5 separate regions of the Homo sapiens genome follow, and regions 1, 3, 4 and 5 are each linked to region 2. Evidence: promoter capture Hi-C in 16 types of primary human blood cells and fetal thymus (Javierre and others, 2016). All regions are on one chromosome and are shown on one strand. The core of a region is centred on a gene start or on the middle of the fragment in contact, and the rest is flanking DNA. Distances in the headings are between cores, read along the strand shown. Region 1 overlaps TRIM37 (tripartite motif containing 37). Region 2 holds the start of SEPTIN4-AS1 (SEPTIN4 antisense RNA 1). Region 3 overlaps PPM1E (protein phosphatase, Mg2+/Mn2+ dependent 1E). Region 4 has its middle 110 kb from the start of TRIM37. Region 5 overlaps PPM1E (protein phosphatase, Mg2+/Mn2+ dependent 1E).

Region 1 (2,700 bases), core at 1-2,500, 510 kb after region 2:
ATGTCTCCAGAAGCAGCACTGCTGCTTTTTATTTCTGAAAGTGTATTCTTTACATCAGTTTTCATACATCGAACTTCGGCCATTTGAGTTTTGAGTCTTTTTAGCATCTTTAAATCAGAGGGCACTCGCCACATTGCCTGTTGCTTCCTTTGGTCTTTATCTTTTCGAGAATATGATGCTTCAGAGAAATTGACAAGTCATGTTAACATAAACGTTAATATTAATGAAATCATTTGTACCATGAATATATGCAAATTTGATGTGTAAAATAAGCTAGCGTGCTTTACGTGGTATCAACAATAAAACATGCACTAAATTCCATTAATGAAAATAAAGATAAAGAATCCTACCTTATTCACACCTTCAGAGTTAGAATCTGAGTCACATCATACTCAAGTTCGAATTACACATTTAATTCTAAAAGTTTAAAAGCTGCCCTACTGCCTTGTGCTTTCTTCTTTAAACTTCTCCACTTTTCTGAAACTTTCTACAGAGCTTTTATTATGTTTATAATTGAAAAAAAAGACAAAGAAAAATCTAGAAACCAAATACTTTGTCAAATCTGCCATATATAACATTATATTAAAAATACATATTTCTGGCCAGGTGCAGTGGCTTATGCCTGTAATCCCAGCACTTCAGGAGGCTGAGGTGAGAGAATCGCTTGAGGCCAGAAGTTCAAGATCAGCCAGGGGAGCATAGTGACACCCTATCTGTACAAAAAAAAATTTTTTTATTAGAACTTCCATTTCTGATAATTTTCTCAGAACTGTCAGCTTTCTGAAATACGGTTTGAATCTAACCACTTCTAAAATAAAACAATAGCTCTCCATGCCTAGTATGAATAAATTCCTCCGGCTAGCATGCAAGTCCTTTCATAGAATGGACCCAACATGACTCTAGTTCTACTTACCACTATATGTACCTTAAAATCTGGTTCAACTAGATTACCTGATACCTTTTACAGTACTCCTTTACATGGTTAAGAACATGAAGTTAATCTGACAAATGTTCACTAAATATGTGTTAAATAAATACACAGAAAAAAATAAACATCAAAGCCCAAGCAGGCCACGTGCAGTGGCTCACGCCTATAATCCCAGCACACTTTGGGAGGCCGAGGCAGGTGGATCACTTGAGCTCAGGAGTTTTGAGACAAACCTGGCCAACATGGTGAAACCTGTCTCTACAAAAAATTGTAGAGCACTCCAGCCTGGGCAACAGAGTGAGACTCTGTCTCAAAAACAAACAAACAATCAATCAAACAAAAAATGACCCAAGCAAGCCTTTTCAATAAAAAGAAAGTCATATATTTCTGCACACTAGCTTTTATTAACATCCCTTCACTGAAAGGTATTTTCATTTGGCTTCCATGAGTATTTTTTCTCCTTTCTAAAAGCTCTTTATCTGGCTCATCTTCCTGACACTCAGTAAAAACAGATATTCATCAGGATTATGTTCCTGGCTCTCTTCTTTTAAAATATTCTTAAAACTCCTTTGCAATCTCACACCCTTGGTTTTAATTATCCAGTATCACCTCCAGAAAAATAACTGTCTGTATTCCAGTTCATTTTTTTTTTTCATGGAGTTTCACTCGTTGCCCAGGCTGGAGTGCAATGGCACGATCTCGGCTCACTGCAACCTCCGACTCCCAGGTTTAAGCCATTCTCCTGCCTCAGCTTCCCAGGTAGCTGGGATTACAGGCACCTGCCACAATGGCCGGCTAATTTTTTGTATTTTTAGTAGAGACAGGGTTTCACCATGTTGGCTAGGCTGGTCTCGAACTCCTGACCTCAGGTGATCCACCCGCCTCAGCCTCCCCAAGTGTTGAGATTACAGGCGTGAGCCACTGCGCCCAGCCCCAGTTCTTAATTTTTAGCTGTCTACTGGTCCTTTCTAATTTGATGTCACACTGTTATGCCCAACTCAAGATGTTTAAATCCAAAACTTGCTTTTTCTTTCTACTATTTTCCCCGCCCTCATTATTGCCAGCATTTTATCACCTAAATTTGAAATTCAGATCATCTCATTTGTATTGTTTTTACACAGAAAACTAGTTTTACACAGAAATCTTACTATTTAGTTTGCATTTTTCCCAATGATACTGATTATTTTCAAAAACACGATTTTACTTGTCTATAAAATATACCATTGCATGGTTACACTGTAATTTATTCAGCTATAACTGTATTGTTGAATATTTTTAAACATCTGCTTGTTTTCTCTTTGGAATATACTCCTCAAAGTGAAATTACAAGTTTAAAGGATATAGATATTTTTAAACTACTACAAAATTGTCCTTCAAAAAGGTTAAACCAACTTACATATCTACCTACAGAATCAGAACCTGTCTGTTTCACTGGGCCTTTGCAAACAACACTTAACATTTAAGTAAAACTTTATATAAAGCATACTTGGCGCACACATAAAAGGCAACTGTTTCATAACCTGAAGATAGTCTTTTAAGCTGAGGATCCAGACTTTCAGGAAGTATATCTGGCTCTTAGGAAAGAAGAAGCCTAAATAATCTGGGCTCCATGTCCCTACACCAGTAGAAGAGCTCTATTTCTCTGTTATTTACACAGAGGTTCTGCCTTGGACTTTGATTGAAAAATGAGTTATCTTGCCTTAAAACTACATCAAAATCAGAGTTCTAAATCATTGATTTGATGTATATAATACTATTGTTTAAGAAGGTAG
Region 2 (2,700 bases), core at 121-2,620:
CGACTGGCGGCGCTAGGATTTCCCCCTTCCTGTGTCTTGATGGGTTCCTCCAACACTCACTTTGTATCGATAAACGACCCTGCAGTTCTTCACGACCTGCATTGCGCTGGCAGTCCTGAGTGAAGAACTCTCCTCTCATCCCAGAGATGGGAAACCTGGATCTGAGACTGCCAGCTAGCTGCGGCCTCCTAGTCTGTAAAGCGAAGGGAGACCAGGACGCTCCCAAGGACCCGGCTTATCGCCCCTCCCTTTCCTTCCCGGGGACCCAGAACAGACCACAAGACGGAGGGTGGCCGCTGGAGGTCGCCGTGGCCCCGCGATACCACCAACCGACAGAAATGGAGAACAGTTGATTCAGATTCAGCTGATATTCTCAGGTCTGGAGCGGGCCTGAGCGCTTTAATTAGCCCGGGGCTAATGTCCTCACCCATCTTTGTTTATAGAACGTTGAAACTCCAGTACTGTTGGTAAGTTCCAGGAAGACAGGAACTTTGCACTACTTGAACTCCAGGGTCTAGAACAGCCTGCAATCTAGCAGATGCTGTAAATTTTTTAATTAAATACTGAACTCCTGTAGGACGGTGATTGTGTTTTTATTCATTCCCAGCACTTACTATAGTGTTTGGTGATTACAATGGCTGCAGCATTTGTTCAAAGCTCTATCACAGGCTTTCTACAGTGTAGAGCTTAACCTGCCTATCCCTTTTCCCAGATCAGGGGAAACAGAAAGTCAGGAGGTTGCACGCAGTTAATACCTTGTGTTTTCCCAAGGGCAGGTATCAAATACAAAACTGCGTCCGCCGCAGCTGGAATACGCACAGGCATCAAAATGGGGCCTTTTGGGCCGGGCGCGGTGGCTCATGCCTGTAATCCCAGCACCTTGGGGGGCCGAGGCGGGCGGATCTCAAGGTCAGGAGATCGAGGTCATCCTGGCTAACACGGTGAAACCCCGTCTCTACTAAAAATACAAAAAATTAGTCGGGCGTGGTGGCGGGCGCCTGTAGTCCCAGCTACGGAGTCTTGTAGTCCCAGCTACGGAGCTTGCAGTGAGCCGAGATAGCGCCGTTGCACTCCAGCCTGGGCGACAGAGCGAGACTCCGCCTCAAAAAAAAAAAGGGCAGGGGGGACTTTTGGACAGTCCTTTAATATTGGGGAAGTGCCCCAAATTTCTTTTTCTTTTTATTTTTCTTTTTTTTTTTTGAGACGGAGTCTCGCCCTGTCACCCAGGCTGGAGTGCAGTGGCGCCATCTCAGCTCACTTCAAGCTCCGCCTCCCGGGTTCAGCCATTCTCCTGCCTCAGCCTCCCGAGTAGCTGGGACTACAGGCGCCCGCCACCACGCCCGGCTATTTTGTATTTTTAGTAGAGACAGGGTTTCACTTTCTCCTTAGCCAGGAGAAGTGCCCCAAATTTCTAATCCCTTAAGCCAGGACCTTGGTAGCCCTGAGGTGTGATGGGAGACTCTGGACAGAACCACCTGTTGACCTATCCAGGACCCAAATATGCACCACAGGTAGGAATCTTTTTATTACCAAAGGTACTGTATGTGTGAAAGATGGAGAGAGACCCAGACCCCAGATAACAGAGGCATGATAGATATGATCGTCAAGATGGAGAAGCCAGGCTGGATTCTAAGCAGGGACTTAGAAGGGGAAAGGAAGTGGAAAGTTTTCCCCACTCTCCCTTCCCTACTAAAAGCCAGAAACCAACATCTTCTACCATTAGCCTTTCAAAACTGGGTCCCAGGATCTTGATCTCCAGGTCATAAAAATACACACAGGGACACCAGAAGCCACCTACAGATTTATTAAACTTTATTTCCTCTGAGTCTCTGGGCAGTCAGCAGGGATGTAAGGCGAAGTGGCAGTAGCTGAAGGGGCCTGAGCAGAGCTGGTGCTGGGAGGGGCCGGCATGGACAGGAAGAAGAGGAGGAGATTTAAATATCCAGGGCTGAAAGCCAGTTAATAGTTCTCCTTCATCTGTTTTTGTATTTTGTGTAGCATCTCCTGCATCCGCCGCAGCTGGAATAGGCACAGGCATCAAAATGGGGACTTTTGGAGAGTCCTTTAGTATTGGGAAAGTGCCCCAAATTTCTAATCCCTTAAGCCAGAACCTTGGTAGCCGTGAGGTGTGATGGAGACTCTGGACAGAACCACCTATTGACCTATCCAGGACCCAAATATGCACCAGAGCCAGGGATCTTTCTATTACCAAACAAAGAGATACCAACGTTGGTGATCAAACAGGAGACCTCCCCTATACCCCATACTGCTCTCACCTCCTCATCTTTCTCTCGGATAAGCTTCTCAGTTTCTGGATCTGTCCCTGGTGGGACAGCAGGGATGGGGAAGTCGGTACCACTTTCCCGAGTCAGTTTGCTAAAGGGAGAAAAGGGTTGATAAGGCGAGGAGGACCCCAGCACCCGCTTAGATTGAGCCCAGGGCCTATAGAAGAACAAAAGTAGGGCTTGGTCTCACCCAAGGCTAGGCTTGGGATCTCCCCCTGCCAGCTTTGTCCTGGCTTCTGGTCATACTTGCGATTCCGTTCCTTCACCACCAGGCGGGTCATGCTCTGGATGCACTGTGCCCGGTAGTTCTCATAATGTGTCTCCCGTGTCACATCCTTCAGGTCCTGCATGTGGGTACGTACCAGCATTGTCCTCAGCTTCACAAAGTCGCAGTGCCCTGGGTTTTCCACTGCAT
Region 3 (2,700 bases), core at 89-2,588, 430 kb after region 2:
TATTATTAATAGATGAGGACTTACTCCAGACATTTATTGACTGTTTTCTGAGTATTTTGTGTAACCTTTGTTCCTTCCCCTCCTATTATTTATTTTTGTGGTTGGGTTGTTTTCTGTAGTGATAAGATTATTTATTCCTTTCTCTTTCTTCTTTCTCTGTTGGCTCTCCTGGTGAATTTTATAATTTCACATATCTTCATGAGGGCAGTTATCATCTTTTTATTTCCAGATGTAAGACGCCCTTGAACATTTCTCTTGGACTAGACTAGTGGTGATGAATTCTCTTATTTTTTGCTTGTCCAGGAAAGATTTTATTTCTCCTTCATTTTTGAAGAATAGCTTTCCTGGGTATAATATTCTTGGCTAGCTGAGTTTTTTTTCTTTCTGTACTTTGACTATATCATCCCTTTCTCTCCTGGCCTGTGAAGTTTCTGCTGAGAAAGCTGCTGCTAGTCTAATGGAGATTCCCTTATATATGACTTGATGCTTTTCTTTTGAAAAGGAATTCTCTTTTAGAATTATTTCTTTGTCTTTACCTTTTGACAATTTGACAGCTGGGTGTGGTGGCTCATGCCTGTATTCCCAGCACTTTGGAAGGCCAAGGCAGGTGGATCACCTGAAGTTGAGAGTTTGAGACCAGCCTGACCAACATGGTGAAACCCTGTCTCTACTAAAAATACAAAAATTAGCTGGGCATGATGGCGGGTGCCTGTAATCCAAGCTACTCAGGAGGCTGAGGCAGGAGAATTGCTTGAACCCAGGAGACAGGTTGCAGTGAGCCGAAAATTGCACCATTGCACTCCAGCCTGGGCTACAAGAATGAAACTCTGTCTCAAAAAAAAAATTATTTTTTGACTATAATGTGCCTTAGAGAAGACTTGTTTGGGTTGAATCTATGTGGGAACTTTCCAGCTTCCTGGATCTGAATATCTGTGTCTCTCCCAAGACCTACGAAGTTTTCAGTTATTATGTCATTAAGTATATTTTCTACACCATCTCTCTTTTCTTCTCCTTCTGGAATGCCCATAATGCAATTATTTGTTTGCTTAATGGTGTCCCATAAATCCTATATGCTGTTTTCATTCTTTTTTCTTTTCTTTCTTTTTTTTTCTGCCTGAGTTTTTTCAAAAGACCTGTCTTCAAGTTCAAAAATTTTTTCTTCTGTTTGGTCTAGTCTGCTGTTGAAGCTCTTTATTGTATTTTTTATTTCATTCATTGAATTCTTCAGCTCTAAGATTCCTGTTTGGTTCTTTTTTTTTTTTTTTTTTTGAGACGGAGTCTTGCTCTGTCACCCAGGCTGGAGTGCAGCGGCGTGATCTCTGCTCACTGCAAGCTCCGCCTCCTGGGTTCACGCCATTCTCCTGCCTCAGCCTCCCCAGTAGCTGGGACTACAGGCGCCCGCCACCATGCCTGGCTAATTTTTTGTATTTTTAGTAGAGACGGGGTTTCACTGTGTTAGCCAGGATGGTCTCGATCTCCTGACCTCGTGATCTGCCCGCCTCGGCCTCCCAAAGTGCTGGGATTACAGGCGTGAGCCACCACACCTGGCCGGTTCTTTTTTAATGATATCTCTTTGTTGAATTTCTCTGATTTTTGTTAACTGTTCTATATGTATTCTCTTGTATCTCATTGCGTTTCCTTAACATGATTATTTTGAGCCACATGTGATGGCTCATGCCTATAGTCCTGGCTCCTTGGGAGGCTGCAGCAGGAGGATTGCCTGAGTCCAGGAGTTCTGGCCTATAGTGCATTATGCTAATCTGGTGTCTACACTAAGTTTGGCATCAATATGGTGACCTTCTGGGAGCAGAGAACCATCAGGTTGCTTAGGGAGGGATGAACCAGCTCAGGTCAGAAATAGAGCAGGTCAGCCAGGTGTGGTGGCTCACACCTATAATTTCAGCAATTTGGGAGACTGAGATGGGTGAATTGCTTGAGCTTAGGAGTTCGAGACCAGTCTGGGCAACATGGTGAAACCTCGTCTCTACAAAAAATACAAAAATTAGGCTGGTGGCTCATGCCTGTAGTTCCAGCTACTTGCGGGGGCTGAGGTGGGAGGATTGCTTAAGCCCAGGAGGTGGAGGTTGCAGTGAGCCAAGATTGTACCACTGCATTCCAGCCTGGGCAACAGAGTGAGACTCTCTTTAAAAAAAAAAAAAAAAAGAAAGAAAAATAAATGGAGCAGATCAAAACACATATGCCAATTAACAGTAGGATGCCTATGAATAGCCACTGCACTCCAGCCTATGCAGTATCGTGAGACCTTCATCTCAAATTTTTAAGAAAAGATTATTATTTTGAATTCTTTTTCTGGCATTTTATATATTCCTTACGATTGGGGTTTGTTCCTGGAAAATTATTGTGTGCATTTGGAGGAGTCATGTTTCCTCAATTTTTCACATTTGATGTGTCCCTATGTTGATTTCTACACATCTGGTGGAACAGTCACCTCTTCCAATCTTATGGAGTAGTTTTCATAGGGAAAGATTTAGTCATGTGGATGGGTCTTGGGGCATCAGTTGGATGGCTGCATTGGCTATGGTTCTAGGTGGACACAGTGTTGTAGTTTCTTTTGCTGTAATCTGCACTAGTGATGTTTGTGAGTATCCCAATGGCCTAGGCTGTTAGAGTTTATGGCAGAAGTCATGTAGCTTTACTGGGGTTGGGACCATTGGACTATTTCTTAGGTCAGGGACATGT
Region 4 (2,700 bases), core at 39-2,538, 470 kb after region 2:
GTCAGCATTACTCTGACACCAAATCAGATGACGACAGAAAATTTCAGACCAGGATCGCTCTGAATATAGATGGAAAAGTTCTGGCAAAATATTAGCAAAACAAATACCATTACACACCTATTAGAATGGCTAAAAAATGGCTGGTTAGCTCAGTTGGTTAGAAGAAAAACCAAAAAGAATGGCTAAAAAACTTCTGGCAGTGCCAAATATTTGTGAGATGCCACTGGAACTCTCATGTGCTACTGATGGGAATGCAGAATGGTATGTCACTGTGGAGGTTGGGCAGCGTCTCAGTAAAGACTCTACTTACCATATGACTCAGTGCAATGAGTGCTGACACCAACCACCCGGAGTTAGGTCAAACTGTACAGGTTATGGGCAAAGTCTTCCACAAGACTGCCCTCATTCCAGACACAAGCTCCAAGTTCCGGGATCCTGAGGCCACCCTCACTTCTGATCAGCTGATTACAAATTTGGGCGTATTTGCTATCCTACTCATGTTTAATAATTGACTAGAACAACTCACAGAACTCAGAAATGCACTTATGATCAGAGTTTCATTATGACAAAAGGTTACAAATAAAGCCAGCTAAAGGGAGAGATACATAGGGTGAGGCCTGGGAGAGGCCCAAATGTGAAGGCCCCTTGACTTCAGGACAACTTACTCTCCAGGCACACTGATATATATATATATAAATATAAATATATATATATTTATATTTATATATATTTATATATATATAAATACATATGTAAATATATATATATATATATATAAATACAGAGTACTGTCAACCAGGGAAACTCACTCAAGCTTTAGTGTCCAGTTTTGAGACGGAGTTTCACTCTTTTTGCCCAGGCTGGAGTGCGATGGCACAATCTTGGTTCACGGCAACCTCCACCTCCCGGGTTCAAGTGATTCTTCTGCCTCAGTCTCCCAAGTAGTTGGGATTACAGGCATGCGCCACCACGCCTGGCTAGTTTTGTATTTTTAGTAAAGATAGGGTTTCTCCATGTTGGTCAGGCTGGTCTCGAACTCCCGACCTCAGGTAATCTGCCTTCCTCGGCCTCCCAAAGTGCTGGGATTACAGGCGTGAGCCACTGTGCCCGGCAGGTGTCCAGATTTTTTACTGGAACTTCCTTATGTAGGCATAACAATCATTGGCAATGAGTTGAACTGGGCTATCACATGGTTCAGAGCTCCAACTGTCTAATGACACCCACAGCATTTCTGGTGTAGCCAGCCCCGATCCTGAGTCATCTCATTAGCATACACTAGCAAGGCCCACCATAAATAACTCCTAACACTTGAGGAATGCCAAGGATTTAGAGGGCACTTCCCAGGAACTAGGACAAAGGCCAGACAAATTCTCTATTGCACACCCAGCAATCCTGTCCCTAGGCATATATGGTTTGGCTGTGTCCCCACCCAAATCTCATCTTGAATTCCCACATATCATGGGAGGGACCCAGTGGGAGGTAATTGAATCATGGGGGCAAGACTTTCCTGTGCTGTTTTTGTAATACTGAATAAGCCTCATGAGATCTGATGGTTTTATAAGGGGGAGTTTCCCTGCACAAGCTCTCGTCTGCCACCACATGAGATGTGCCTTTTACCTTTTGCCATGATTGTGAGGCCTCCCCAGCCACGTGGAACTGTAAGTCCAATAAACCTCTTTCTTTTGTAAAATGCCCAGTCTCGGGTATATCTTTATCAGCAGCATGAAAACAGACTAATACAGCATGTAACACTCTAGAGAATAAAAGCTTACACTCACACAAAAATCTGTACCCAAACGTTTACAAGAGTCTAATCACCCTAAACTAGAAATAACCCAAATGGGCAAATGAATGAACAGTGGTATATCCACACAGTGGACTACTACTGCTCAGCAATAAAAAAGAAGGAGGTGCTGATTCACACAAGATGAGTGAAACTTAACTGCACTTTGCGAAGCGAGAGGTCAAACTGTGATCCCGTTTACATGACTCTGGAAAAGCAAAAACTAAAAGGGCAGAGAACAGATCAGATCAGATCAGATCAGCGGTAGCCAGGAGCTGTGGGGAAGGGGGGTGGTTACCTATAAAGGGCCAGCACAGGGGAATCTTGGGGGTGACTGAAATGTTCTGTATAGTATTGTGGTGGCGGATACAAGACATTTGTTGAAACCCACAGAACTGTATGCCAGAAAGACTGAATTTTAATGTATGTAAATTTACAAATTAACCAGGATATGTGGGGGAGGACAGAATGTAGACCATAACAGATGAACCTGTTACACCAACGAAGCACAAAATCACAATGAAGGGATTTTGTGAAAGAACAGAACTAATGTAATTTTGAACCTAAATATCTTTGAAAAAAATGTTATGACACAATACTGAAAAGCTAAAGACTAAAAGAACTGTATACAAGCACTGTATTTTAGGTGGTAAATCTGTTTTTTGTAGGGCATAGCCTGGAATCCACAGGAGGCCAACGGTTCTGAAGCTACTTGTATATTAGGGTTGAACAAGTACATACATATATTGTAGCTAATGAGAGCTAGGCTTCTGTCAGAGAAAGGCATTATAAATAAGAGGGAAGGCCAGAATGAGGCCTCTGGAGCTGAACTGTTACCAATATAGACTCACAGTCATAGTGACACACACACACAGATATGTACAGAAATACACATAAATGTGTGTATTTGCATGAGT
Region 5 (2,700 bases), core at 44-2,543, 450 kb after region 2:
TCCCATAACTGTTCTGTGTTTCTGTTGACAGGACCAGGAAGAACAAGCTTACTTTGCAGTGTTTGATGGCCATGGGGGAGTAGATGCTGCTATTTATGCCTCCATTCACCTCCACGTTAACTTAGTCCGCCAGGAGATGTTCCCCCATGATCCTGCTGAGGCCCTGTGCAGGGCCTTCCGGGTCACTGATGAGCGGTTTGTGCAGAAAGCAGCCAGGGAGGTATGCCCCTTTCTCATAAGTTCCAGCTAGAAATGTACTAGCTGAGCTCAATTTGGTCTGTGTGGTTAAAGGGCTATTTAGATTTTCTCTTTCTGGGCAGACATTATCCAAACTGTATTCTTGACTCACAGTATTGGATTCTGTTGTAGTTCCAATTCCCTCCTCAGGAAGAGTTTCAGGGGGTACAATGAGGTACTGTATAGAAAATCTCAAGCTGTAATTTTCTGGATTCATTTCTGTAATAACTGCTGGATTTGGCAGGTGAGTTTCATCTTTCTTTTATTCACCATTGCCTGTCAGGTTCACACCAGGACCATCTCTCTAAGCAGACTCTTGCTGACAAGATCTGGATATGGTGAATAAAACAATGGTCTAAAAAAGAAACAGAAACTGGGATTACTTCCATACATTTGGTTCTAAATGGGTAGGCAGTGTTTTGCTGTGTATCTCTTGAGGGAAAATTCGCTTGGAGAGGGTGAATCCTTAAATGATCCTTGAGCTGATTTTTCTCTTAATAGGGAGAAAAGAAGAGCTCATGTCCTACATTGCGAAGGTTAATCAGACCTAAGTTTTTTTTACTTTGAATAAATGGCAAGGGCTCTATATTAAGGTCTAAAAGTAAAAAAATTAATCTAATTATCGTTCTGGGTATTGGTACATAATTAACTACAGTGTTCTATATTGGATTTTTAACTGGGGACGAATAAAAGAATTTTTAATTTTTAAAAATAATTACAGAAGTAGATACAGACAAAAAATAAGACTCCTGCCCTGTGACTTAAACATTAACTCTTTTTAAAATGGGCTTGGAGAGATCAGGGTAATCATTTAATCCATTTTTTGATAGCATAGTTATGCTACAAGCAATAATGGGGCTTAGAATTAATGAAACAATAACTCAGACCTATTTGGTATTAAGAAAGAGAATTATTCTTCATCTCTCCCCTCCCCTAAGTTTGGATTAATATGCAAATCCAACAGTAACCAGTAGAGTCCACACAAAGAGGTGGGTCTGGAGAATAAAGCCACTCTTGACCTCAGAGCTCCAGTCTCTTGAGGACCTGCATTCTGCTTGGCTCTGCCTCTCTTGAAGCTGTGGGCTTTTATCATCTGAGTCGAGGACAAGGGCCGGCCCCTGAGAGGTGACCCGTAATCATCAATGTGAAACAAAGAGATTCACTCTGTCTTCTTCATCCTCTATTCTATTCTTTTTTTCCTCTGTCTTCTCAAAATTATGTGTTGTTGTTGTTGTTGTTGTTTTCTGACCATGTTTACCTCATTTGTTTTGTCAGTGACCCTGGTGTCTCTCAGTTCTGCCAATAGTTCTGAATAATTTAGGTTTGTCTCAGCGCCCCTTTTCTCCTTCTTATGCTTCCATGTGCTGCTAACTGCTGGGAAGAAAACAGCTATTCCTGTTATGAAGCAGCCCTGCCTCCTGTTCTCTCCAGGGCATATGCACTGAAGTGTGTTTATCATGTGTTCTAGGGGGCTGAGTTTTTGAACATTCTGTGTGGGAAGACATTTTATTGGTGGGTGAGGATTTATAACAAACTTTCCCTATATAGGGAAAACGAGAAGTTGTTTTTCTCATTGGATACAAGAGACCTTTTACCACCCCTGACGCATTGGTTCTAATTTAGGCCAGGTCCTTAGTAACAGAAAGTCATGCTCATTTGGTGGTGACTCATGTCAAATGGGGATGTCATTTTCGTATAGTAGGACCAAGAGCTTTAAGTACAGTCGTAGCTACTGCAGTGAAATTCCAGGCTGTTAGTTCTTTATGCAATGTTCCAAAAGCAAAGACCCCTAAAAATACTGTAGGAAGGATATTTTTTTAAAGGTATAAGCATCTTAGTACTCCAGGGAACGTAAGCTGTCTCTTGGCCCCTTAGCTTAATTTCCAGAGATTAGAGCATCTGTTGTGTACCAATCAGATGTTTTATATATCATTTTATACAGCTAGGACTCTCCCACTGAACAAATACGATGTCAGTAATGAAATGGAGAGCAGAATATAGAAATTTTTACTCTGAGGATTGGTATAGAGGATTTAGTGCTTGACTGGGAGGAAAAAGAATTTCAATTCTGTCTTATATACTAATAGTTACCTGCCCTTGGGCAAGTCACATAACCTGCCATAGTTTTCTTATCTATATTTAAAGTGGAATTAATAATCATCCTCGCCCTGCATATCACAGATCAGGTGGACTTATGTGTGTATATACACATAAATACATACATGCATATACAAATGCATTGAGACAATGAATTATTATATATGTGTGAAATTCCATTATTAATAGTATAGCTCCCAGCTGAAAAGCTTAATTATAAATTGCTTCTCAATAAGAATGTAGTATCTATTTCTTTTCACTGAGTCTAGTTTTATTTAAACTGTTTTCAGAGCTTAAGATGTGGGACCACAGGAGTGGTGACTTTCATCAGAGGCAACATGCTACATGTGGCCTGGGTGGGTGATT

What was found. Contacts are between HindIII fragments. The CHiCAGO score rates a contact against its expected background, and 5 or more counts as called.
Region 1: a contact is called between a fragment that was not itself captured here and the fragment with the promoter of SEPTIN4-AS1 in region 2, in 6 of 17 cell types (M0 macrophages, M1 macrophages, activated CD4 T cells and 3 more). The highest score is 7.0, in M0 macrophages.
Region 3: a contact is called between a fragment that was not itself captured here and the fragment with the promoter of SEPTIN4-AS1 in region 2, in 1 of 17 cell types (M0 macrophages). The highest score is 6.3, in M0 macrophages.
Region 4: a fragment that was not itself captured here is called in contact with the fragment with the promoter of SEPTIN4-AS1 in region 2 in 6 of 17 cell types (non-activated CD4 T cells, naive CD4 T cells, total CD8 T cells and 3 more); the score reaches 7.3 in non-activated CD4 T cells.
Region 5: a fragment that was not itself captured here is called in contact with the fragment with the promoter of SEPTIN4-AS1 in region 2 in 7 of 17 cell types (M0 macrophages, M2 macrophages, total CD8 T cells and 4 more); the score reaches 8.6 in M0 macrophages.

The regions. Positions count from the first base shown.
Region 1 is chr17:59,028,546-59,031,245 of GRCh38, forward strand. TRIM37 (tripartite motif containing 37) reads right to left here. Exons shown (of 24, transcript NM_015294.6): 19 at 1-178. Among named protein-coding and RNA genes, the nearest start is that of TRIM37, 77 kb to the right of the region's middle. The HindIII fragment of the contact is 6,930 bases long and covers 1-2,700 here.
Region 2 is chr17:58,518,467-58,521,166 of GRCh38, forward strand. SEPTIN4-AS1 (SEPTIN4 antisense RNA 1) reads left to right here and starts at 1,371. Exons shown (of 5, transcript NR_110810.1): 1 at 1,371-1,511. It overlaps SEPTIN4 (septin 4), which reads right to left. Exons shown (of 14, transcript NM_001368771.2): 12 at 2,532-2,694; 13 at 2,277-2,376; 14 at 1,790-2,019. The coding sequence ends at 1,960. It also overlaps a transcript of MTMR4 not described here. RefSeq lists enhancers at 1-675, 23-122. The HindIII fragment of the contact is 4,387 bases long and covers 1-2,298 here.
Region 3 is chr17:58,949,528-58,952,227 of GRCh38, forward strand. The region is part of intron 1 of PPM1E (protein phosphatase, Mg2+/Mn2+ dependent 1E); the gene reads left to right. Among named protein-coding and RNA genes, the nearest start is that of TRIM37, 160 kb to the right of the region's middle. The HindIII fragment of the contact is 4,948 bases long and covers 1-2,700 here.
Region 4 is chr17:58,991,567-58,994,266 of GRCh38, forward strand. It overlaps a transcript of TRIM37 not described here. Among named protein-coding and RNA genes, the nearest start is that of TRIM37, 110 kb to the right of the region's middle. RefSeq lists a silencer at 1,931-2,131. The HindIII fragment of the contact is 953 bases long and covers 813-1,765 here.
Region 5 is chr17:58,969,508-58,972,207 of GRCh38, forward strand. It overlaps PPM1E (protein phosphatase, Mg2+/Mn2+ dependent 1E), which reads left to right. Exons shown (of 7, transcript NM_014906.5): 4 at 32-220; 5 at 2,625-2,700. It also overlaps a transcript of TRIM37 not described here. Among named protein-coding and RNA genes, the nearest start is that of TRIM37, 140 kb to the right of the region's middle. The HindIII fragment of the contact is 2,496 bases long and covers 46-2,541 here.